Linked DNA regions of Homo sapiens: regions 1, 2, 3 and 5 are each linked to region 4. The links are contacts of gene promoters, found by promoter capture Hi-C in blood cells and fetal thymus (Javierre and others, 2016). All regions are on one chromosome and are shown on one strand. Each heading gives the region's core, a stretch centred on a gene start or on the middle of the fragment in contact. The rest is flanking DNA. Distances are from core to core; before and after follow the strand shown. Region 1 overlaps SCD5 (stearoyl-CoA desaturase 5). Region 2 holds the start of SCD5 (stearoyl-CoA desaturase 5). Region 3 overlaps SCD5 (stearoyl-CoA desaturase 5). Region 4 holds the start of TMEM150C (transmembrane protein 150C). Region 5 overlaps SCD5 (stearoyl-CoA desaturase 5).

What was found. The method cuts DNA at HindIII sites, captures the fragments that hold promoters and counts their contacts. A CHiCAGO score of 5 or more calls a contact.
Region 1: a fragment that was not itself captured here is called in contact with the fragment with the promoter of TMEM150C in region 4 in 2 of 17 cell types (M1 macrophages and M2 macrophages); the score reaches 6.2 in M1 macrophages.
Region 2: a contact is called between the fragment with the promoter of SCD5 here and the fragment with the promoter of TMEM150C in region 4, in 6 of 17 cell types (erythroblasts, M1 macrophages, endothelial precursors and 3 more). The highest score is 6.7, in erythroblasts.
Region 3: a fragment that was not itself captured here is called in contact with the fragment with the promoter of TMEM150C in region 4 in 4 of 17 cell types (M2 macrophages, M1 macrophages, M0 macrophages and 1 more); the score reaches 10.1 in M2 macrophages.
Region 5: a fragment that was not itself captured here is called in contact with the fragment with the promoter of TMEM150C in region 4 in 1 of 17 cell types (M1 macrophages); the score reaches 8.1 in M1 macrophages.

The regions. Positions count from the first base shown.
Region 1 is chr4:82,701,886-82,706,780 of GRCh38, forward strand. It overlaps SCD5 (stearoyl-CoA desaturase 5), which reads right to left. Exons shown (of 5, transcript NM_001037582.3): 2 at 3,398-3,528. Among named protein-coding and RNA genes, the nearest start is that of MIR575, 49 kb to the right of the region's middle. The HindIII fragment of the contact is 313 bases long and covers 1,209-1,521 here.
Region 2 is chr4:82,796,952-82,802,024 of GRCh38, forward strand. SCD5 (stearoyl-CoA desaturase 5) reads right to left here and starts at 1,845. Exons shown (of 5, transcript NM_001037582.3): 1 at 1,355-1,845. The coding sequence starts at 1,586. RefSeq lists enhancers at 71-592, 1,569-2,286, 2,287-3,003 and silencers at 1,401-1,450, 1,781-2,200. The HindIII fragment of the contact is 16,836 bases long and covers 1-5,073 here.
Region 3 is chr4:82,723,081-82,727,636 of GRCh38, forward strand. All of the region lies in intron 1 of SCD5 (stearoyl-CoA desaturase 5), which reads right to left. Among named protein-coding and RNA genes, the nearest start is that of MIR575, 28 kb to the right of the region's middle. The HindIII fragment of the contact is 3,428 bases long and covers 501-3,928 here.
Region 4 is chr4:82,559,776-82,564,801 of GRCh38, forward strand. TMEM150C (transmembrane protein 150C) reads right to left here and starts at 2,213. Exons shown (of 8, transcript NM_001080506.3): 1 at 2,131-2,213. RefSeq lists an enhancer at 1,939-2,438. The HindIII fragment of the contact is 8,598 bases long and covers 1-3,608 here.
Region 5 is chr4:82,771,523-82,776,336 of GRCh38, forward strand. All of the region lies in intron 1 of SCD5 (stearoyl-CoA desaturase 5), which reads right to left. Among named protein-coding and RNA genes, the nearest start is that of MIR575, 20 kb to the left of the region's middle. The HindIII fragment of the contact is 2,556 bases long and covers 794-3,349 here.

The DNA of each region.
Region 1 (4,895 bases), core at 115-2,614, 140 kb after region 4:
CTGGCTCTTCCTTGTGAAAACTTAACTCTTGGAGAACAGGCATCTCTCACCTGGGTCCATCTTTGACTTGGAGCAAATTATAAGGAAGTTGCAAGCAGTCTTTAGGTTGACTTCACCCTACTGGCAAGGAAGGAGGATAGACCATAGAGGAACTCAGGAGATCTTTGCTGAATACAAGCGTTCAGGTTCAGAGGGGACAGAGGATTTTATAGCTCCTTATCAGGCATTCCTGCCCCATCATCATCTTTTTTTTTTTTTTTTTTTTTTTTTTTTTTGTGAGATGGAGTCTCACTCTGTCGCCCAGGCTGGAGTGCAGTGGTGTGATCTCATCTCACTGCAACCTCTGCCTCCCGAATTCAAGTGATTCTCCTGTCTCAGCCTCTCAAATAGCTGGGACTATAGGCATGCACCACCATGCCCAGCTAATTTTCGTATTTTTAGTAGAGACGGGGTTTTGCCATGTTGGCCAGGCTGCTCTCGAACTCCTGATCTCAGGTGATCCACTCGCCTCGGCCTCCCAAAGTGCTGGGATTACAGGTATGAGCCACCACGCCCAGCCCATCATCATTTTTTTAGACTAAAAGTATCTCCACCTTTCCTACTATTGCCTCTCAGCCCCATACATACATCTTCTATAGAAGAAAAAGAAAAGGAGTTTAAAATGTTTAAGTCTCAACGTTAAGAATACTGTTCTTAATGCTCAAGGTCTTGTTTGTAGCATCTAGCAAAAACCCTGCTGATCCCAAACAGAGACAGCTATGGCATGACTTGTCCATTTTGGCCAATGGCATGACCATTCCGGTGAAGGAGAGAAGAGAGAGAATCTTTGAAACTATCTTTAAAAACCCATGGATTATCAAAGGGAAACTAAATCAATGACTGCATTAAGTCAGGGTTGTAAGTCACCATCCTACACTGGCAGATCATAGCATTTTTTCATTTCCCCAGGTTGTTCTCCTCATAGGGTTAAGTGGTTTAAATAAATTGTTCTAGACACTGACTAGTTCTAGTTCTGTTCTAGTTCTCTCCCACTGACACAGTTCTGCATGTTATGGAAACTGGCCCTAATCTGATCTTAGAGAGGTACCTTCCACCTAGGTCTAAGTGACATTGTTATAAAACCCCAGGTCCATGAAACACTGAAATTTCCACTGGGAAACTTTGGGGATTCTAATATCCTACTAGACAGAAAAGCTCCATGAAGGCGAAGCTTGTGACTCTTTGCTCATTGTTATTCTCACTGTGCCTTCTCAGTGTCTGCCACATAGTAGGTGCTCAATAAGTATTCGTTGAATGAATTTTAAAAATCCACTACAAATGTGGGCCTTGAAAAAGTATGCATAGTTCAAATTTGATGGTTTCTAAAACTACATTTTAAAGCTGTTCATTTATTTTTTTATTTACCTAACAATCATTAATTGTTTTCTATATGACAGACATTAGCATACAGAAACCAATTAAACAATATATCAATTCTCATAAAAGAGAAGGGGAGAACAATATTCACCGATTGCTACTATAAGCTTGGTACTTTTTATTCATTATTTTATCTTCCTAGCAACTCTGTGAGGCAAATATTATTATCCTCCCCTTGCAGATAAAGGAACTGATACTTGCAGAAAGGCTCACATCTAGCAAATGGCAGAGCAAAGAATTTATTCTAGGACCTGGGTACTTCCATCTACAGTGTACTTTCTCCCTAAAATAAATTTAAAATCACAGTCTAATATTCTGTTATGTGGTGTTTTGTTAAGAAAACTTAGGTTTTCAAATTTTGAGTTATAAACAAGTAGTTTCATGAGAAAAAAAATCAGAGTTTTAGGCTTCAGCTACAAGTTATTTATCTTTGAAAAAAAGTCCAATAATAGAAATGTTTTATAACTACATGAGTGTGTCATTGGAGGCTATAAAGAAAGGATTGCTTGAACACAAGAAATGAAAATTATCAAGTTAGGTCCTCAACGTCATCTAAGACCTAAGTCAATTATTATTTTGAAAGCACAACACTGAAATAAGATGGCTGAAGTCAAAATAAAGTGCAGCATAGTTCACACTGCCAGTGGTGAACAAATGAACATGGAACCAGGAAGCTGCCAACTGCTCCCTTATGCTTAATAGCTTATTTCCTAGGACCTCAGTACTAATACCTGATGTGCTTGAATGACAAGCAGTATATATACACACCACCAATTGTGTTTCCTAATTGACCTATTGTGTTATATCCTATTTACCTTATGAAAAGTCAAACTGTGTAAGAGATGCCTAAAATAAGGAAATGAATTCTGAGCTACAAGAGCACTTAGTGAAATATTCCGCATCAGGTTGTCTCGTAGGAGTGGAAGGCCCATGGCAGAGGTGGCCACATGAGCTGTGTGTCTGAGGGCCACAGGGAAGCTCCTGGGTCACCCGTCTCCCTGGACTCTAGAGCACTTTTCGCAATCACCATTCCTTCCCAATGAGTGAAAATGCACGGGGCCCAGAATCATCTACACTCATAATGTGGGCAGAAGTTTTGAAAACAAGTTGTTCTCACTCAGATTAGGAATTGGGAAAACAGAGATCCATGACCAAACCAAAAGTACCCAAGGAAAGTACCCAAGGAGGTGGGGAATGGTCTAGGACTGGGATAGTCTTAAAGAATATGGCCCAATCCTAGTGCAGTGATGACCGTCTCTTACATTTTTATAGCTCCCTGCAGTTTTCATTGATTTTATAACAACCCTGAGAATGAAGTTTTGTTCTTATTTTTACAGATTAAGAAACTGAAGTTGAGGAAGTGATTCACAGCCAGCACCCATCAGAGTAAAATCCCTGCGTCTTCAAACTTCAGATGGAATAGTCTTTCCACCATGACCTCGCAGGGCAACCTCGGGACTAGGTGTTGTAAGAGCAATGACTTGGAGTCAGGCTGGCCTGCATTTGCCTAGCCCTGAATGTACTGCTTTTTAGGCATATGATTTGGGCAGGTTCTTTAACCTCACTGAACCTCATTCTCCTCATCTGTAAAATGGGACACATGTAACATCTAGCTCACAGGGCTACTATGCGGATCAAATACTATATGCATACCAGTGTGCTTATCACAGAACTTGGCCCCTGGTTAGGGCTGGACAAATGTTGAGGCTTTCAGGGTATGTTCACAGCATGGGCTCTGGATAGAGGAGTCTCCTTTCCCCTCAGTAGTTCAGCATGCCTTAGGGCACAAAACCCCCCCAGGGGACATTTTACTGTATCTAAAAGCTACAAAGAGATAAAAACTTGGGACAGACTGGGCGTGCTTGGGGCCTGAACACTGAGTCTAGGACAGGGGTGGAGGGGTGTCAGCCCATCTTTCCCCTCCTCCCATACTGCCATCTGCACTGGGTCTCCCAACACAGAGAGGACCCTCCATCCTCACCTGGAAAGCCATGGAGTTGGCGACAGCCAGAAATATCCTCAGAGGCAGCTTGGCCCGGTAGGACCTGTGGCTCCACAAGCGATGGGCACCAGCTGTCACACCCAGAGCGGCCAGGAGGAAGCAGAAGTAGGCTGCAAGACACAAGCAGGGACAACGTCAACAATGGTCCCTGAGCTTTCAAACACCCCCCATGCTTTTTCTCTCCTGAACAGGGACACACGTGAAATGGTGTCAGGGGGGAAAGCTGCAACATGAAGAATCAATAACTTGAGAGGAGGCAGCCTTTTTATTGATTTGTAGCATCCCAGTACCATGCATAAGCAGAGAACTTTCTTCAGCAAACTTTGACCTTTGAATATCCTTCCCTACAGCAAATCTTTTATTTGCTAATGTTTCTTGCCAGTCTTGATGCAAAGTCACAACCATGTCAATGTACATTTGCAATTCAATTTCACACATACACTCTCGGCAGGGCAGAGATTGAGCTCTACCTCACCTCTTAATTGGCACACATGACAGGGTGAGTGTTATGTGAAGAGCATATTTCTAAGTGGCAGTGCCCATTATTGGTATCAATAAACATATTTAAAGAGAGCACAATATTACATCTTCCAGAAGTGTTTGACTGATCTTGATCTCAATCTATATTTATTTGGTTCTAAAAACAAGATTTACCCTTAACTCTAAGAATAAACGGTCCCTGAATACATGTGGTTTTCATGAACATGACAAATCATTCCTTACTTGAAAGGTTAAAAGCAAAACACAAACAACAATCTGCCCACAAATCACAGAAAGCTGCAGTAAATAAAAAGCTCTGGCCTCCTTTGTTATTGTAATTTAACCTTGGTCATGAGTCCATGAAATGGACAGTCATTTTCCTTGTCATCCCTGGCCTTCTTATCTCTATTAACATTTTTTTTTTCAACTAGCAAGTAGTCAGGGAACAAGTAAAATCTAGAATGGAAAAATTCAATGTGATTCTATTCTGCCAGTAGGCTGGACCTTGGGTGCAATAAAATTAATTCCAAGACTCCATGAAAAACATTGGCTAAAAAAGGATCACTCTAATCCACATTTCCCAGTCAGACCTTTACCACAGACATTGTCTTGTCCTTTTGGGAATCTCCAATAATTTAGGGATCACTTGCATGGTTGTCTGTCTATCCCTATGGCACCAACAGTGGTTCACAGCAGCGCCTGTACTGTGCAGTAGTGGCTGTCGGTTTCCCATGGTCCTTCTAACAACTGGAATTTGGCCATGTGACCTGGCCCTGGCCTAGTATACTGCCCTGTCTTCCCAGACATGAGAATAAACACCTGAGCCAATCCTTTTCCCTCTTCTGGCTCAAAGCCTAAGCTGGGGTTTACCAAAGATTACATATTACCAAGCTGAGAAAACCTGATTACAATAGCAAATCTTGAGGCCAAGAAAGTGAGACATGAAGACAATGAAGATGCCCACAAGAGCTAAACCTGCCTTGAGCCACTGGTTGCT
Region 2 (5,073 bases), core at 595-3,094, 240 kb after region 4:
AGCTTTGGGGAGACTTTAAAGGCTTTAGGGATCCCCAAAGATCCTACCTCTCTCACCATCCGTCAACTCTGCTATGCCCTCCCTGAGCCACACCCCCTAAGAGGTACCCACTTCTGGATGGGTTTACTTCCAAGAGCAGGGACTGCAGGATTTCAAGGGAAGGCTTGGAACCATAGTGGCCCCATTATCTACCTAGGCATTTGCAGCTGGCACCATGCCAAAAAAGCCCTGTAGAAAGAGGTCTTATTTTCTTCCTTCCTCTTCCCCTCTGGAAATAAAAGTAGGTTGTGTTTCTCCTGCCCGCCCCTAGAGATCAGGGAAACGGGAGCTGGAAGGGCATCTTGGATTACCTCGTCAAATTCTCACTCAGCATATCAATGCCTGTGCCTTTTGTCCTGGCTACTGCCGCTTCAGTAAAGGAGGCCAAAACCAGTTATTGCGGCCAGGGCGGCTGCGAAGTGGTTCAAAGATCAACGACTGGGGTCGTGTAGGGTGGGCACGCAGTCCCTGGGGCCCAGGGGAAGGGGAATGGTGGTCGGCGCCCGGGCTCCCTTCCCTACTGGCAGGAGTGGGGGTGCACGGAAGGAGGGTACCAGGAGAGCCACAGGTTCCCACTGGCCACATGGGAACAGGGTTTGGAGAAGGCTCTGCACAGCCACAGTCGGAGCTTCGTGCTAGGGTCAGACCGCTCTCGCCATGGGATCGGTTTGCTCACCGAGAAACTTCACCGAGAACTGCAAATGGGCATAGAAGATTGCGGAGGGGGCAGGGACAGGGGCCTTGGAGAGGCAAGAGGGGAACCGGTATCTTCCATCTGGTGCGCGTAAACCAAGACTCTATCCTGTGCCGGGTCTCTCCTCCCCGGTCCAACTCCCTTACTTGTCCTCATCTCTGTCCCCAAGGTCCGTGACCCGCGGAGGTGATGGGGGGGATAGGAGAGCCCCAGGGACCGCAGAGGTGACACAATCGCCCGCCCGTCCTCCCTCGCTGGGAGCCGATTCAGCCTGTGCCGAGCCTCTCCCTTCGCGCGCCTCTGCGCACAGCGGTGGCACCGCAGGACTCCGGGTCCCCCCCGGCTCTCCATCGGGAAGCCGGCAAATGCGCTTCCTCAGGCAGACCGCGGCGGGGTGGGGGCGGGGGGGGGGCGGAAGTTGAAATACTGGGACAGAAACACCTGCCCGTCCCAAGGGACGGAAAACTGGATGCCAAGGGGGCCGCGGCGCGCAGCGGGAGGCGAGGGGAGACCGGGGGTCGCTGCGCACCGCCCGCAGCCGAGGGGCGAGCGGCGACCTCGCGCGCCCCAGCGCGGCCTGGCCACGGAGGCCGGGGCGCAGGGGGCGCCGGCGGGACTTACCCCAGAGCAGAGTGAGTGGCTTGGCTTTGGGGATGAGCACCAGGGAGTACACGGCCCCCAAGTGGAGCAAGCTCATCAGGACGACATTCCTCCAGACGATGTTCTGCCGCTGCCCGCGCGCGCCTGGCCTCTCCGGGCCGCCGCCGCCCTCAGAGCTTTCGAGCCCGGCACGGATTTCTTCCTTGGCGTCGCAGAAAGGGATCTTCCCCGCGTCGGTGGCCGGGCCTGGCATGGCTGGGCGAGGTGGGCGCCCGCAGCAGCGGCAGGCAGGCAGGCGCTCTGCCCGAGCGGAGCTCGAGGGTGGGGGCGGGGGCTTCTGCCTTTTAGGGGGGAATTCTCCGCACGTCCAGTCCCCTCCTTCCAGCCCTTCTCCCGGGCTCCTGCGCTCTTCCCCAGGGTCTTAGCGTGGCCTAGGGATGCAGATCTTGGCGGCCGGCGTCTGTTGCTGGCGTATCCCCCATATGGCTGCCCGGGCTGAACTCGGCCGCGAGAAAGAGGAGGCGCGCGCGGGGCGGGAGGGGCGCGCGGCCGGGGAGGAGGAGCTGTGAAAATGGAACGGGGCCGGCGACGCTGGAGGGAGCGCTCCGAAGGAGCGCGGAAGAAAGCCCTGCTTAGCTACAGCCAATCAGGAGCGCCCGTGCGGCGCTTATAGACAAAGGCGCCCCCCTTTCGGCTTTTCGGGGCCGAACTGGGGAGCCCGCTGGGCGGGAGTTGGCCGCCTCCGCCCGGGGGCGGGTGGAAGGTGGCTCCCGGGGCAGGGAGCCTGCAGGGCGGCTCACAGCGCTTCTGCTCTTGTGTGTGTGTGACCCCCAAAATGCCTTTTATGGTATTTTTCCAGTCCCCCCCCCAAAAAAAAACTTCCCGAAACTGTCATCCCTTTGAGAAGCCTTTTATTTCTTCTCAAGCCTCAGGCCACCTGGGTTGGAGAATTTTAAATACTTGCTTGGAGTCGCGACCCTAGTTAAGGCCAGACCCACGATGAGAATCAGAAGTCCCTCAATCTGCCAGTTAGTAGGGCTCCTCGGGCCAGGGGAGGGTTGGAAGGCAGCTGCTCGTTCTTAATTAGGCAGCTGTGGATTACCCAGGCACACAGTAAGTGCTCAGTTGGTGCTTGTGAGGTGATGCACAGATGATTTGGGCCAGTTCGCTGCCCACCCTTTGCCCATCCGCCGCGCCACTCTGTTTATGGTCAATTCTAGCTAATCAGCGCACTTCTGCAACGCCTCCTTAGCTCTCAGTGAGGAACACTACCCTGAAATCAACACCATTGAGAATCGGGCTTTACAAAAAAATCACCCAGAATGTTCCAAGGAAAATTAACCTGTGAAAGATTTGTGTCTGCCCACTTCTCTCCTAGAGCTGATGGCTTAAGAGCTCTCCAGAGAGGACCCTAGTTGCACAGAAAATGGAGGGAGGATTGAGCTGGAAGTGTCTGAAGCAGGTGTGACCGCAATTGCGGGCAGGCAGCAGAAGTAAAAGGGCTCGGGACAGCATCTCTGAGTTCTAGTTTTAACTGGCTGGAACCCAGCCCAACTCTCTGGGCACGGATTTCCTTACCTGAGAAGCAGAACTAGTTTCTACTCTTCCTTCCAGCTTCCATATTCCATGAATGTGAGTTCGAAGGGGCGCCATTATATTGACCAAAACCAGCTGATTTTTAGATTAACCGTTGTTAGGAATCATTTCCAGGATTTCAAGAGAGGCAAAAAAATTTAAAAGACTGACTGCATGAAAGGGCCATGCATAAGCATCTTATTGTTAGCAGACCTGAGCCAGTCCTAGCAGCCAGACAAAACAATGCCTGATTTAAGCTAAAGCAAGGTATGTGGCACTTGTGGAATCTAGGCCACTGAGTCAGTGTTACTGTGTTGCTTCAGACGGAGCTGAAATTATAGAATTTGCCTGGAGACCAGATAAATGTCGGCCCTATATAATGACCAGTCAGACAGTGGAACATGAAGCTGGAGGGTGCGATTTTCATCTGTCTGTTCAACCTGGGCTATGTAATGAACCACGTTTTCTTCTCATGCTCCCTCTGCTCCCCATACCCAGCAGACCTTCCTACTCCCTGTGGCTCTCTAGTTCAGACTGTCCTTTCTCTCTGGGGTAGACTAGTTGCTCGGCCAAAAGCCTCTCTCCGGGTTATTGGAAAGGCTCAATGCTGTAAAGACCCTCATTCTAAACATTCAGTCATTTATTTGGCATTTATTGGGCATCTGCTATGTGCCAGGACCAGTGGGCACAGGGGATCCAAGGATGAATAAAGTCTGGTCCCGCCCCTAAAGGAGCTCCCATCTAGAAGCAAAGATGGAGCAAACAAATGTAACCTCTTGACTATGACCTTGGAAGGGCAGAAAGTTACAGTCCATTATCGGAAAAAAAAATTTAATTAGGTATCAAACTTACATACAAGGAGTCTAAGGGAAGCAAAAATAGTTCCTTATTGTCCCCCCTGAGAACCTTATTAGGTCAGCTGTTCTATCTTGAATCCATCTTTTGTTTGTTTGTTTGTTTTTGTTTTTGAGACGGAGTCTCGCTCTGTTGCCCAGGCTGGTGTGCAGAGGCCTGATCTCGGCTCACTGCAAGATCTGCCTCCCGGGTTCACGCCATTCTCCTGCCTCAGCCTCCCGAGTAGCTGGGACTACAGGTGCCCGCCACCACGCCCGGCTATTTTTTTTTTTTTTTTTTTTTTTGTATTTTTAGTAGAGACGGGGGTTTCACTGCGTTAGCCAGGATGGTCTCGATCTCCTGACCTTGTGATCCGCCAGCCTTGGCCTCCCAAAGTGGTGGGATTGCAGGCGTGAGCCACTGTGCCCGGCCCTTGAATCCATCTTGAATGAACATCTTTCTCTTTTCCCTCCTGTGGGTCAGACCAGGTATGACCAGTCATTTCAGCTGGCTGTCCTCATAATGGAGAAGATGTTTTTGTGTGTTGAGGGAGGAAAGAAGTGTTACTTAGGTTTGTCAGAGCCTGCCTATAAAAGGATTGTTGAAGAAAAATGGTCCTTCCAGGTCCAGCCTCAGAGTGAAACATCTACAAGATCCAAGATATATTCTTGCTGATAACGACGGTCCTCTTTAGCCAATTATGCCATAGGGGTCACTGCCTCTTTTCTCTGTCTTGCCAAAGACCCTAGTATATTTTCCTAGCTTCTAGTCAGGACCCCAGGAGTGGATAAGTATTCACCTGTCCCAGGATGGGGCAAATGGGACAGTAACCCTTATCCTGTCAAACACGTAATTACCAAAAATGTAATAAGAGCCATAATGGTGGTATACGCAAGATAATGTAGAGGTGCAAAGGAGGGAGTTGTTAATTCACACAGAAGCAGGGAGGAGGGGGAGTGATACCTGGGGAAGGATTTTTAAAAAATATTTAATTGTGGTAAAATACATGTAACATAAAATGTATGTAACAAAATTTACCACTGTAACCGTTTTTAAATGTACAGTTCAGTAGTGTTAACTATATATGCACATTACTGTGCAACCGATCTGCAGAACTTTATCATTTTGCAAAACTGAAACTTTATGCTCATTAAACTCCCCTTTCAATCTCCATCCAGATGCTGGCAACCACTGTGCTACTTTGTTTCAATTAGTTTGACTACTCTAGATACATCATATAAGTGAAATAATAGAGGATTTGTCTTTCTGTGACTGGCTTATTTCACTTAGAATGTTTTCAAAGCTCATCCAGGTTGTATGTGTTAGAATTC
Region 3 (4,556 bases), core at 965-3,464, 160 kb after region 4:
AAAAAAAAAAAAAAAAAGGATTCTCTCCTGCTGGTTTACCTTCACCTCAGAACTACAGGAACATTACATAGTGAAGAGGTGTCTGTAACATTTCTACCAGTTGTTTCAATAGCATATTGGTCCTGGCAATTTTTGGCACTAGGGGCTCTCTGTTCTTTGTGATGTCTTGTTTGTGACGTTTATTTATTTTTAAAAATAACTAAGTGGAATTCTAAATGTAGATGTGGATCCGCACCAAGAAGTTCTTTTCACAAATCCCTAAATGTCTGATTTCCATTCAAGTCTTTTAAAAGACTTGTTTTTTCTTATTGGGCAGCAGAGAACTTTTATTTTCTACTTTCTTGTATACCTAAGAAGAATGAACATGCATTTCAATTGACTGTACTATATACTTTTTTGCTAAAATTTTTTCTGTAAATAAAATTACCTTGTTCAGTTTTGTCGATTACCATAAGATGCGCTGATTATTTGCTTTCTGATATGTTTGATAAGCGTGATAAAGCTTAAAAATTAAAAAACTTTAAAGTGGAACAAGCAGGCAATTGACACCTTCTGATGATGAATAGGAAGCACACAGCATCACCCTTCAGGCATTCTTGCCAAATATGCTTAACTTCAACCATGCCGGTAAGACTCACCTCGCAGTTTACAGAAAACAGAGGGAAGGTAGAAACAATCACACAAAAATGTGGGACATTCTACAGAAAACTAAAACAAAAAGTCAATGTCAAGGGTGAGGGTCTGTTCCAAAGACAATGAAAACAAATAACAATCAAATACAATGTGAAAGCCTGACTAGCTCCTAGCTCAAAACAAAAAACAATTATAAAAGATAGTCTGAGGACACATGAAATCTGAATCTGGACAAGATATTAGATTAGGTTATGATAATATCCTTATTTTTAGGGGATGTGTATGGAATCATTTAGGTGTAAATGGCCACAACATCTGCAACTTACTTTCAAATGGCTGAGAAAAAAAGTTATAGGTAAATAAAGCAAATATGGCAAATGTTAATAATTATTGAATCTAGTGGTAGATATATGGGTGTTTACTGTATTATTCTTTAAAATTCTGTATGTTTGAAAATGTACATAATAAAAGTCTGGGGAAAACAAGTGTCTTTGACAGTTGATAACAAATACCGAATTTCATCTTTCTCTTTTTAGGTCTAACATTAACACCAACCACACAAACGTTAGAACCAGAACATAGATGGCCAGCATGAGAAAGTACGGGCTAAACCTTGCTTTAGGCCAGGCATGGTGGCTCACACCTGTAATCCCAGCAATTTGGGAGGCTGAGGCAGGAGGATTGCTGGAGCCCAGGAGTTTGAGACCAGCCTGGGCAACATGGTGAGACCCCCATCTTTAGAAAAAATAAATAAATAAAACAGACCTTGCTTTGTACAGACTTTCTAATACCAAACTGATTAAACTTAAATACATGCATACCTCCTCTTCCTGCCCACAAATAAGTAGGCCCTAGAGTAAGTGGGAAAGGCAATATCAAATTAAAAGAATAATATAAAAAGATATACATGGTGGCCGTGATTAGCTCTTCCCTAATGCTTTCTGAGTCTGTTTCCTCATCTGAAAAATGGGAAGAACAAAACAAAGCTGGAAGAACTGTTTTTAGGACTAAAGATGAGAAATGTCAAGTGCTTGGTAAGTGGTAGACAGGTGATAGATACCCTGAAAACTGCTGTCGTTGTGCCTGTGAGCAGTGGGGCTTGCTAGTGGCAGCAGGAAGATACGAACCTAGACATTTAGGCCCCAGGGCCTGTCCTCCACTGCCTCTGAGAGCAAATGGAACATGGCATTTTGTTTTTCCTAATGAACATAATAAAGGTAACTATTAATAAGAAACAATTTTCACTCTCTCCCATGCAAAGAAAATGGTAGACATATGTTGATTATATTTCAAATTGCACACTTAAAGACCAACAAGGTTATCAACCTGGATGATAACCAGGAAGAATTCAGGAAGGGTTTTCTGAAGGCCAAATACAACAAAAAAGAAAAACCAAGTCAGAATAGTTCCAGAGTAAGGAGTTTTCCCATAATCTATATCCTCGGAATATTTTGTTGCTTTAATAAATAACTCCCCTGAACTTCAGAAATAAACCTTTCCAGCTGATGTGAAATCTAGATGGTGTTAGGCTTTCCTAAGGGCTAATGGGGCTCATGGGTACAGGCTCCTGATGGTGATAATCAAACTTTGAATGTGAATTCAGTTCAAGCCCAAAGAAAGCTATCACTCTGTCACCACCGTCCACGCTAACTTTCAGAGGGTAAAAGCCATACTTGAGTTTTATTTTCATTTCACTATCAACCACTCACAGTACTATACCAGCACCTTCCACTTGTCTCACCAAACAAACAAAAATGACAGCTATGGGTAGCATGAGTGTACTTTTTCTTCCATATGTTACTGTCACAGCATTAGCTCACCCATGGACATTCTAAAACGTGATTCCTTTAGAAAATAAAGCCTGGACCGGGCGTGGTGGCTCATGCCTGTAATCCTAGCACTCTGGGAAGCTGAGGTGGGCAGATCATTTGAGACCAGGAGTTCGAGGCTAGCCTGGGCAACATGATGAAACCCTACCTCTACAAAAAATACAAAAATTAGCTGGGCCTGGTGGTATGTGCCTGTAGTCCCAGCTACCCAGAAGGCTGAGGTGGGAAGATCACTTAAACCTGGGAGGCAGAGGTTGCAGTGAGCCGAGACCATGCCACTGCACTGCAGCCTGGGTGATGGGAGTGAACTCTGTTTCAAAAAAAGAAAAAAAAAGAAAAAAGAAAAGAAAGCTCTGGGAAAGATGCATTTGATTTTGGCCCAATCCCATAGGAAGCAGGATTTCAACTGACAAGGTGAGTCATGGAACCTAAGTGAGGAAAAACCGCCTGAAGGGTCTCCACTGACAGGCCTCAGAGGCCGCAGAGGCTCTGTGTCAGCCCAGTGGAGACTTCATCCTTCCAGAAGGCTCTTAAACAGAGGAACACCCAACAACTTTTTGCTCCCACCATGTTTGTTCCTAAACAATAACCTTGGGTCAGGCATGGTGGCTCACACCTGTAATCCCAGCACTTTGGGAGGCCAAAGCAGGCAGATCACCTGAGGTCAGGAGTTCGAGACAGCCTGACCAACATGGAGAAACCCCATCTCTACTAAAAATACAAAATTAGCCGGGCGTGGTGGCTCGTGCCTGTAATCCCAGCTACTCGGGAGGCTGAGGCAGGAGAATCGCTTGAACCCGGGAGATGGAGGTTGTGGTGAGCCATGATTGTGCCATTGCACTCCAGCCTGGGCAACAACAGCGAAACTCTGTCTCAAAAAAAAAAAAAAAAAACAATTACCTTGGATTTTTACAGCAAGGTTAATCGGGACTTTATCAACTGGGCAAACTTGAGTTTGCCGGACACTGAGATTAAAAGACTAGTTATTTTCACTCTGCTTGTTAAGAAAGCAGCTGTTTTTTTTTTTTTAAATAGAGACCTGCACTAAGTAATATAATACACGTTGCAATCTAGAACACACACAAATATGACTGATATACAATTTTCATAAACAATATTTAATTCTTACTAAACTCAATGCACTGACACTTTCTATTTTATTATGCTTTAAATGTTGGTCACGATCCAAACTGAAGTGTTCTACACCCCCTGTGAGGCCACAGTGTGCAGTGTGAGACGCGCTGGACTGGATAAAGCCTATGCTTCTTGGCATGCTCCCATCTCATACACAGCCCTCTTCGTCCTGTTCCTTTCCCCTGGAGCTGTCACAAAGCTGTCCTAATTGGTCAAGAAAAGGAGACACATCTCCTTTCTCCTCTACATTTTCTAAGTTCTGAAGGGCACCTGTCAATTGCTGCCCAAGCTCATCCTGCAGAGTGGGGGCTGTTCCAGCTCTAATGGAATGAAGCTTCTTTTTTAAATAATCATGACAGGATAATATAGAGGTGTGCTACAGAAAAGTCCACCCCATCTCACATCTTGAGGTTCCTGGGTTCATATCTAAGTAAGGAGAGGTTTCCCCATCAGATTCTGAATTCATTTCTCCTCCACTCAGGTTCAAATGAAACCCTAAACTTGACTTTAGGATGTAAGGGGATTCGGGTGTAACAATGATATGCAGTGGACAAGGCCTTGGTCCTGTACAACTGCACCACCTGCATTGTCTCTGGAAAAGGTCACTAAGGGATGCCATCTGCATAGAACACTATACTAAGAGTATGTATGCTCCTTAAAGGTGTGTACCCTGGTCTACCCTTGTGGAGTTAAACATATTTCAAACATTCAGAAACACACTCATCCTCACCCTCTATGAGTATACAGGTCCCACTCCTGGAGTTGTATCACCAAATCAGAGGTTATGGTCCATCCATCAGTCCCAGCCTCCGTGAAGATTCTTCCTTTTGTCTCCCAGAGACAGCTGCTGCTCCATGCTTTGGTTCTCTTTTAGTCTTTTCAGAAGCAATGGTCTTTCTCCTTGGACACCCCCATTGACAGGCAGTCAAAACTGTTCTGACTTCATAGGTAAATCCCTTA
Region 4 (5,026 bases), core at 963-3,462:
AATACATTATCTTGTCAGTGCTTGTCTTGCTTAATTGGTTACTGAACTGATCCCAAATGGCCAGATTGCAGTGAAACCAAATGGCTGAGATTGCGGGGTCCAGCTAGCTTTTCCTCTCTCATGACTCCAGGCTGCCCTGCTAATCTGACCCACTGTACTAAAGAGGTGTGGGTCACAGGCGAGACAAAGCAGGAAGACAGACAAGAGTGTAAAGCAAAGGGCCTTCTCTCTTGACAATTGCAAAGCAGATAAAGTGAGCCCAAAAACCCCTGCAAGGTCATTGTGAACATGATTGTGGTAGTTCTACAACAAAGGCTAAATAGAACGCATTATTGTGTTCACGCAAAAAAAAAAATTACTCCATAGAGCAAATTATCCCCCCACAAAGCAACATGGAAAAGGTATTTGTAAGAAATGCATGAATTAAGCAATTGCTCTGAAGACTTAAATGCCAATTTAAATAATCCAAACAGATTGCATTCAGCTAATGGCAGATTATAATAAACATGCATTAAAGTGTTTTTCAAATACTTTAATATATTTGTGAATGTCATAACATCTATCAACTAGTCATTATTGTTAGCAAAACTTCTTTACCCTTTTATTTACCATGTCCAGTTTGTGAGCTTCCAACTTGGGGGACTTGCAAAACATTTATTAAATAATGTATAAAGGACACACCATTAAAATTCCTACGCTTATGCCTTGAAGATTAAACTCACATTTCTAGCTCATTAATAGATGACAGCTATAGTTAATCCTGGAAACATGGAGTCTCTAGAACACATACAAGAAAAAGTTTGGGATTTGATACATGAGAGCTGAGACTAAAATTCTTTGATCGGTCACATATATGGGCCTAACAATTTTTCCTTGAAATAGGAAACTTTAAGTAGGTCAGTTTAATGACTGCTACCATGGAGTTTATAAATCCACACTCAACTATCCTTTCGATGAACTGCTGCCCAGAATGGAGTTATAGCCCTGCACTATTAAAATGTCTTTGGTTCAAGCAGAGAAAGATGCAGAAACTGATCCTGCCATTTAGGCTTTGTTATTGTTTTAGATCCAATAACTGTTTGGTTTTGTTTTTCAACATGGCATTGGTATATCTGGTTCCCCAACAGGACCTCGCATGTAGGACATCGGAGTGGGTTCACTCGGGAAGATGGACTTCCATTCTACCTGAGCTATGTTCCCACATGCGGTCACAATCCTGGCCCAACCGTGAAAGGCGGTCTGGCCGGAATAAACCTGACCAAAAAGATCAGTGAAATGTGTGGGACATCATAAAGTGCTGTGGGGGTAGGGGTGGAGGAAAGGAATGAGTAGAGAAAAAAGGAGCATGAATTTAAAATGGGAAAACCCTCTCATACTCCATTTGATTCATTTAAGGAGGGGAAAACCACTCAAGGACTCTCTCCAGAACCCAAAGCTAATCACTTTTTTATTGCAGCAGATTACCAAAGAGCCTAGGTAACCCACCTACCACGGCCTCCCGCCGAAAAACCAAAAATCCCATTTCTTCCCAAGTGTGCGCCCAGGAAAGGAAGGAAGACTGTGCATTTAGAGTGGAGGGCGGTACACAGGGCAAAGCAAGTTAGTGCCTCCTTCCCAGATCCCCTGCTTCCCGAGCCAGCCTGACCTGGCTAACCGCAAAGTGCAGGGAGAATGGCACAGGGACCGGGAGGTCAAACTTGGGGTCGCTTCTCACCCGAGTCCACCCGATAACGAGATGATGGGGCGGCGGGTGGGGACACCTGTCAAAGGACGGGGCCGGGGCCGGGGCCGGGGCCGCAGCGGGCGGGCTGGCTGGCGGCACTGCGGCGGCGGGGACCGAGGCGCGCCGGCTCGGGCGTTCGCAGGTCGCGGGGCAGAGCCGGCACCGACTCCTGGACTTGCCGGGGAGCGTGCGCCCGCGGAGGGCTCGGGCGGGCGGCCCCGCGCCCGGGACGCTATGGGAGGGGGCCGCAGCCGAGCAGGGCCCCGCAGCCGGGCGGACCCAGCCGCCCCAGCCGCGCTGCAGCCCCCGCCGTCCCCGGTCTCCGCCTGCGGGCTGCGCACGGGGCCGGGCCGGACGCCCCCTGGCTGCGCGACGGGCCCAGGCAGGGGAGGGGGCGCCGCGCCTACCTGCTCTGGTGCGGCGGGGCCGCTGTCGCCTCGAGGGGCTGTGACCTGCTGCGGTGGCGGCGGCGGCAGCAGTAGCGGCGGGTAGGGCGCTTCCTTCAGGAAGGGGTGGGATCTGCTCACCCGCCCGCCCGGCCCCCTCCTGCCGCGCCGGGGCCCGCCCCCGACTTATTCTGGGGTCCCCGCTGCTAGGCCTTCGGGGAGAGTTGATCCCCTGGGTCTCGGGCTTCTGCCACCCCCCCGGGGCCCCTAATAGTCACCCGGGGCAGGAGCCGGGTGTGGGCGGGCGAGCCGCTTCCTTCCGAAGCCTTTGTGGACGCGTTTGCCTGGCGCTCCTCATCCAACAAAAGGAAGGACAGAATCTTGGATCCTCCGCCTGGTGGTTATTTATTCCTGACCTGTTGTAACCTTCTGCCTGGCTCTCTTTCGTCCGCACACCTAGGGTTTTTGCACAAAGCAGCTAAAATTCATTTTCATGCCCATTGACTGAATGTAGTTCTCCTCCACTCAGCGCTGTCCCGCGGTTTTTGGTTTTTTTTTTTCCATCCTATTGAACAAACACAGAGCCAACTTCGGACCCTGGCAATGAACAGCAGACACCAAGGCCGACCTCCCAGCGCCAGCTTGCAGCTTTCCTCCCTGGGTCTCGTCTGAGTCCGTCATAAACTGTGTTCATCAGCGTTTTGACAGCTTCCCCCATCCCGGACCCCCAACCTACCATGGGACCCCATGGCACCATGTCAGTGACCTCTAGCAGCAGCATGGATCAATGCCATTTTTATCTTAGGCTCATCATGAGCCTGGGTTCCAAACACAACCTCTCTGGCCTCCAACAGGTGGCTCTCTATCAACCGGCCTTTGTCAGTCTGCCCTCTATTCTTTTGGGGGCTTCCGTAGCACACCTGTCTCCTTTAAACTGCTGTCTCTACACAAGCAGGCATTCCCTTTTTTTCTTTTTCTTTTTCTTTTTCTTTTTCTTTTCTTTTCTTTTCTTTCTTTTTTTTTTTTTTTTTGAGACGGAGTCTTGCTCTGTCGCTCAGGCTGGAGTGCAGTGCCGCAATGTCGGCTCACTGTAACCTCTGCCTCTCGGGTTCAAGCGATTCTCTCGCCTCAGCCTCCTGAGTAGCTGGGATTACAGGCGCCCGCCACCATGCCCGATTAATTTTTGTATTTTCAGTAGAGGCGGGGTTTCACCACGTTGGCCAGGCTGGTCTCAAAACTCCTGGCCTCAAGTGATCCGCCTGCCTCAGCCTCCCAAACTGCTGGGATTACAGGCGTGAACCACCGCGCCCGGCCCAACCAGGTGTTTCTAAGAATCTTCTCCAATTCAGCATATTCAAATTCTGCAATTAACGTTCGGTTCCAGAACTCTCCCTTCCCCACAATTCTTGTGATTATTGTCTACTATGTGTATATTGATTCTTTTTTTTTTTCTGTATGTTGATTTCTTGTTACTGTTTTCTCCTGGCTACTAGACTGTAAGCTTCCTGAGACCAGGGATCTTGCCTTCTCTTGTTTTCCTTATTTTAATGAGTGGGACTGTTATCCATTCAATTAAAATAGCAAAAGCAAAAACTGAATCTTAGTCTAGACTCCCTTGAAAGTATATGCTCAATTTTGTGGGAATTAGCTTATGTGTACTTTTCTGAGGAGAGTAACTACACATTAATCAGACCCTCAAAGTGGTCTGACTCCCCCAAAGGTAAGATTGCTTGAGGCCCATCCATGAACCCCTCCTCTCTCTACTCCCTGTCCCCATGCCATTCATTTCTCTCTGCAATAACGGAAAGAGTCCTCTAGCTAGATCTTCCAATTCATTCTTTCAGAAGTAGATCCAGCCAAAGAATTAGCTGTCCCTCAAACACAGAAGTGGTACTCTGTTTTCACATCAGAATCACCAGTGGGGGCTTTAGAAAATGATGCCTGGGTTCACCTCAGACCCAGAGTCAAAACCTGATTGGAGGTGGCGGGGGAAACCAGAACACAGGTATTTTGACAAAGAACCGCAGGTGATTCCGACATGGCCATGCCATATCACTCCCTTTCTTGGGAATAGGGCTCCCAATTTGTAAAATGCCCTTACTTTCCCCTCCCCCATTTTTTTGTGGAAGGATTGAGAATCCATGCACCAGGTTTAATTTATTTCAACATTTTCATTTTCATTTAGAGCCAGGCCTATGTTTCCTAAAAAAAACCAACTTGAGTTTGTGAGGATCGCAGGCTCAGTGCCATTCCTCAGCACCACTAAATCACCGCCGCCTTCATCTCCAAAATGTCCCTCCAAATAAACCCAAAAAGCAAAATGAATTACATTCCTGACAGTGATATTACCAGCTGAAATTGTGTGTTAAAATGCTGGCCATGAAGGAGAGTTGGTTGCTATAAGCAGATTCTGTTAATGTCATGAGAGTTCGAGCGAAGCTTCGAGAGTACAAGCAAAACATGGGCTTCTCTGTGCCTTTTTCTTGGTATCCCATCTGTTAAAATTTGTTGTCCACCATGTACTCAATATACCCTTAGATATTTTAAATCATATATGGGTGTAAGACTGAAATACTTTTCCAGAACCGGTTGTCCTTTTTTCTTTTGAGTATTTTTTGGGGGATGAATTTTAAATGAATCTCTGAAGGCTTCCAGCCAGCACTTGCTTCTACCTCACAAAGACCATTAAAGGCCCCAAGGCAGCTTGGTCCTGAGTATTTGGGGAGTGAGAGTGAGGAATTGTTGTGTTGATGAGGCAAGCACATATTTGTGAGGATCTTCCTACATCCTCTTCTTATTCCTTTTTTTTTTTCTTTTTTTTTTTGAGGTGGAGTCTCGCTCTGTCGCCCAGGCTGGAGTGCAGTGGTGCGATTTCGGCTCACTGCAACCTCCGCCTCCCGGGTCCATGCCATTCTCC
Region 5 (4,814 bases), core at 822-3,321, 210 kb after region 4:
GAAAAATACAGTTACTGTATTCTTGCAGATAGGAGAAGGTGACTCAAAGAAGTAAATATTTTGCTTAAAATCACACAGTTTGGGGAGGCTGGGGAGGTTGTAGTGTTCAAATCTACAGCCACAGACCACATGGTCCCATGCCTGCCTCTCCACCTGCCTCCTGAATCCCTTCATTAACCCTGGCAGGCCACTACCGACCAGCTTCCCCTTAAATCCTTCAGGGACAAAAGGCTTTGAGTTCATTCCTTTTTTCTGAAATCTAAGTTAATAAAAAAAGGTGAAAACTGTGTCAGAGAAATTTGGTTCAGTTCCACACACATCTGTTGCATGATCATTCCCAACCACATCTTGTGAACAGTCCCTACCCTCAGGGAGCTTCCAGTCCAGTGAGGGAGCCACACTCATGATCAAAAGCAGCCATAGAATGTGTTAAGTAAGGTACAGATATGCATTCAAGAGAGTTATTTAGCCCAACTTGGGGTTTCAGGAAAGTTTCCTGGTCAGGTAAAGCCCAGGCTGAGTCTCGAAGGGCAAAGAATATCCAGGGATATAATAAAAAAAATTTTGATGGCGATTTCAGCAGAAGGTAGTGATTGAATAAATGTGTGAGTTGAGGGAAAGAAAGGAGTCCAGAATGACAGAGATTTTTGGCTTTAGCAATCAGATGGAAGGTGGTGCTACTAACCAAGACTGAGAATACAGGAGAAAGAACAGACTGGAAGATGCTGAGGCCATTTTTGTCCATGCGTCACTACATCAGACAGTGACAAGTATCCTTTGGATCTGCCAGGTAAGCTTTCCCAACATGTCTTCAGTTACAGAGTAGAGTCTCTTGGGCATATAAGTGGGCATTTGACCCAGGTCTGGCCAATTATAGCACCCCACCGTTCTGTCAATAACTCTTGAGCAGCCACATGACTTGTGCTGGTTAGCTTTGATTGTTTACAAACATATCCCTAACTCAGTGGCTTGAAGCAACAACAATTCACCATTTGTGACAATTCTATGGGTTGTCAGGGTGGGTCTTCCCATCTGAAATGGTCTCGCTATGGCTGGATGGTCTAGGATGGCCTCATACATGTCTAGTCTCAGCAGGGATGGCTGGGCCTCTCTCTCTACTGGCTGGCCTGGGCTTTCTCACATGGAGGCAGAAAGGTTCCCCGTGACAAGAGCAGAAGCACCTCTTGTAGGACCCCATGCGCCCTAGGTGGGGTGCTCCCCCGCTGTGCTCCCCTGAACCCTGTATGTCCTCTTCATAGAATTTCTGCTGCTTGATGAACTGTCAGGGACTGTTTCCTCCATGACAGCAGAAAGTGTTTCTATTTTATTCATTGCCTCTCATAGTGCCTGGCATCTAGTAGGTGCTCAGTAATTATATGGGTTATGAATGAATGATTGTGATGCATTCCAAAGATGAACAAATAAAGTGGCTAGTTCAATGAGTCATAGGTTTACTTGAGAAGGAGACTTAATGGATAGGGCAACATTTCAGATCTCATAGAACTGCAATGCATGGTGTGGGGAGCACTGATGTTTTTCATTCCTGATCCTGCAGGCCCTGGCCAGCACCCCAGGACACAGGACTTCATGCTCCCTATGCCAGCTTCGAGGGGTACAATAGAGTCTTTCTGGTCACTCCCTCCTCCCGCATTCTGCAATTGCATGTGTCCTCCCTGCCTGGGTCCTCAGTGCTGGGAAGTGGCCTTCAAGTCCCTAAAGACGACATAGTTGCAACAAGGATTTTAATTGCAACAAGGATTATATTGTTCAGCACCACACCACACATCCTCCCCATTCCTTCTCTCTCTGCCTCTCTCTCACTTCTGCACCTCCTTCCAGGGCATCCTGCCTCTCTTTGTCTCCTAGATGCAGGGACAGGCTCCAAGTAGCACACATCAGTCATTTCGCTACTCCAAATCAGCAGGGCCACCCAAGTCCTTCTGCAAGTGGAGGGGAGGATGAGATTGGGTTGGTTTTGGCTGAGCTTCAGCCAGCTAAACTGAGTACCCCCACCTCGTGTTCTTCCAAGGCTTAGAATCTCCAGCCCCACACATATTACAAAGAATTAAAATACCCACATGTCTAAGCAAAGTTTCTCAACCATGGCACTATTAACATTTTGGACTTGATAATTCCTTGATGTGGGGAGTTTCTATCCACTAGATGCTAGCGGCAATCTCCCCCTCCAGTTGTGACATTCAAACACATTTCTAGACATTGCCAAATGCCTCTTGGGGGTGAGGGCTCAGTCCTGGTTGAGAGCACTGGTATAAAGCCTTGAAAATGCACATAGAGGCCGGGCGTGGTGGCTCATCCCAGCACTTTGGGAGGCTGAGGCGGGTGGATCACTTGAGGTCAGGAGTTTGAGACCAGCCTAGCCAATATGGTGAAACCTCGTCTTACTAAAAATACAAAAATTAGCCTGGCATGGTGGCGCATGCCTGTAATCCCAGCTACTCGGGAGGCTGAGGCAGAAGAATTGCTTGAACCCAGGCAGCAGAGGTTGCAGTGATCCAAGATCATGCCACTGCACTCCAGCCTGGGCAATAAAATGAGACTCCATCTCAAAAAAAAAAAAAAAAGCACATAGAAATACATCCTATGGAAATGCATCTAGAAATTTATTCTGAGGAAATTATTAAGGATGTGCATGAGGATGAAGCTACAAGGATGTAGCCTGATAACATCAACACTGCAACAACAACGAAAAACAACCTAAATTTTCAACAATAGGGGGTTAAGTACATCTAAACGTTGGAATACGATACTGCCATTAAAAAAAAATCCATGATCCACATCTATGGACATGAAAAGATGTCTACGACGCATTAACGCATGAAAAAACAGCTAACAAAACAAGGTTATAGTATAATTGCAGACAGTGAGACAAATTGTGCATAGAGAAAAAAGGCTGAAAGGCTATAGCCCAAAATGTTAATAATAGTATCTCTAAAATGGGGAGATACAAGTAACTTTTTTGCTTTTGCTTTTGCTTCCTTGTGTTTTCTAGGCTGTCAACAATGAACAAGTACTTCTTAATTTATAAAATGTAAGATAAAATTCCTCGAAAAGAAAGAGTAGCCCCAGGTTTTGAGCACAGAAACCCACAAACCACTTCTCCCTGGGAGAAAAGTGACCTTCCCTCTTCCCCCACCCTTTGCTCCTCCCAGCATGTAAGAGGAATTTACTGCCTGAAGAAAACTGTTACATAGACCCAGTCTCTTGGTTCTGTTTCTCTCCCACCCTGCCCGCTTCTCTTCCACCCACTCTGTCTTCCCAGGATTCCAATTAAAGTGACTAATAAGAGCTTTGAGACTGATGGAGGAATTTGGAATTTGACCATCAGCAAAGCTTTAGAGGCACCAACAGGGGAGAAGTCCTTAAACCCATTCCCTGGAACTAATCCTGCCCTGCCTGACTGCCCTCAGCTCACCAAGGACCCACTCTCTGCAGCGGCCAGTCTTTCCTCTGGCATGTTCCAGATTCTCTAGGCCAGGGAGTTCAGACCGTTGGCTCCCTTCCTCTCCCCCACAGCCTGCCACTTCACTGCTAATTAGCACCTCCAGCTCAGCCAGCACAGGGTGGACAGAAGCAAAGCCATTGCTTCTGCCTCTTGCTAGAGAACAGCTGCTGGGAAAGAGGTGGCAAGCATTGGTCAGGATGAGTTTGTGGATATCCCCCAGATTCACTGGACCACAGTTGCTTCCCTCTCCTGTTCACTCCTTATTTCACTCACGCCCTGGTTGGGAGCTGCTTGTAGGCATGGATTCTGAGCAGGGCTGGAGCTATGGAAGCTCAGTTCAATGGCTTGTTCAATGGCTCTTGGGTATGGCCTAGGAAAGCATCGGCATAGGTGTAGGTGAGGTGTATGCATGTTGAGGGCAGATAAAGGAAAGTGGGGGAGTAAGAACATCTGGGGCTCAAGTCCTCACTTCCAAGATGACAGAGAAAGAAGAAACGACGGTCATGCCCAAAAGGGCCATGCCACGTGCAACCTATTTGCTGCAAGAACTGCACCTGATGCATGTTCAAGGACCAGGCTATTAAGAAGTTTGTGGCCAGGTGTGGTGGCTCATGTCTATAATTCCAGCAGTTTGGGAGGCTGAGATACAAGGATCACTTGAGGCCAGGAGTTTAAGACCAGCCTGGGCAACACAGTGAGACCGTCTAGAAAAAATTTAAAAATTAGCCAGGCATGGTAGCACATGCCTGTAGTCCCAGCTACTCAGGAGACTGAGGCTGGTGGATCACTTGAGCCTGGGAGGTTGAGGCTGCGGTGAGCTGTGATCATGCCACTGCACTCCAGCCTGGGTGACAGAGACCCTGTCAAAAAGAAAAAAAAAAAAGTTCATCATTTGAAACATAGAGGCTGCAGCTTTCAGAGACATTTCTGAAGCAAGCATCTTCGACGCCTATGTGCTTTCTAAGTGTGAAGCTACATCACTGTGTGAATTGTGCCATCCACAGCAAGGTAGTCAGGACTTCATCTCATGAAGGCCGAAAGGACAAAGAATCAAATACCTTCATCCCGATTTACATCTGCACGTGCTGCCCCACAACCTCCACCAAAGCCCATGTAAGAAGCTGAGTCCTTAAGGACTGAAGAAAAACTATTCTCTGGAGAAAACAAAAATGGAAATTATACGTAATATAGCATGTGGAGCGTATCTGTGCCAGATACGGTGGGGAGTTTGTGTGTCTGTTAGACCAAGTGCTCTGGTGTAAAGTGCCACATAGTGTTTTCATGGGGAAGAGAGCTTATCCATGAATATTAAACCTTAACTCTTTTGCAATCATATCCTTGGCCTCCCCAG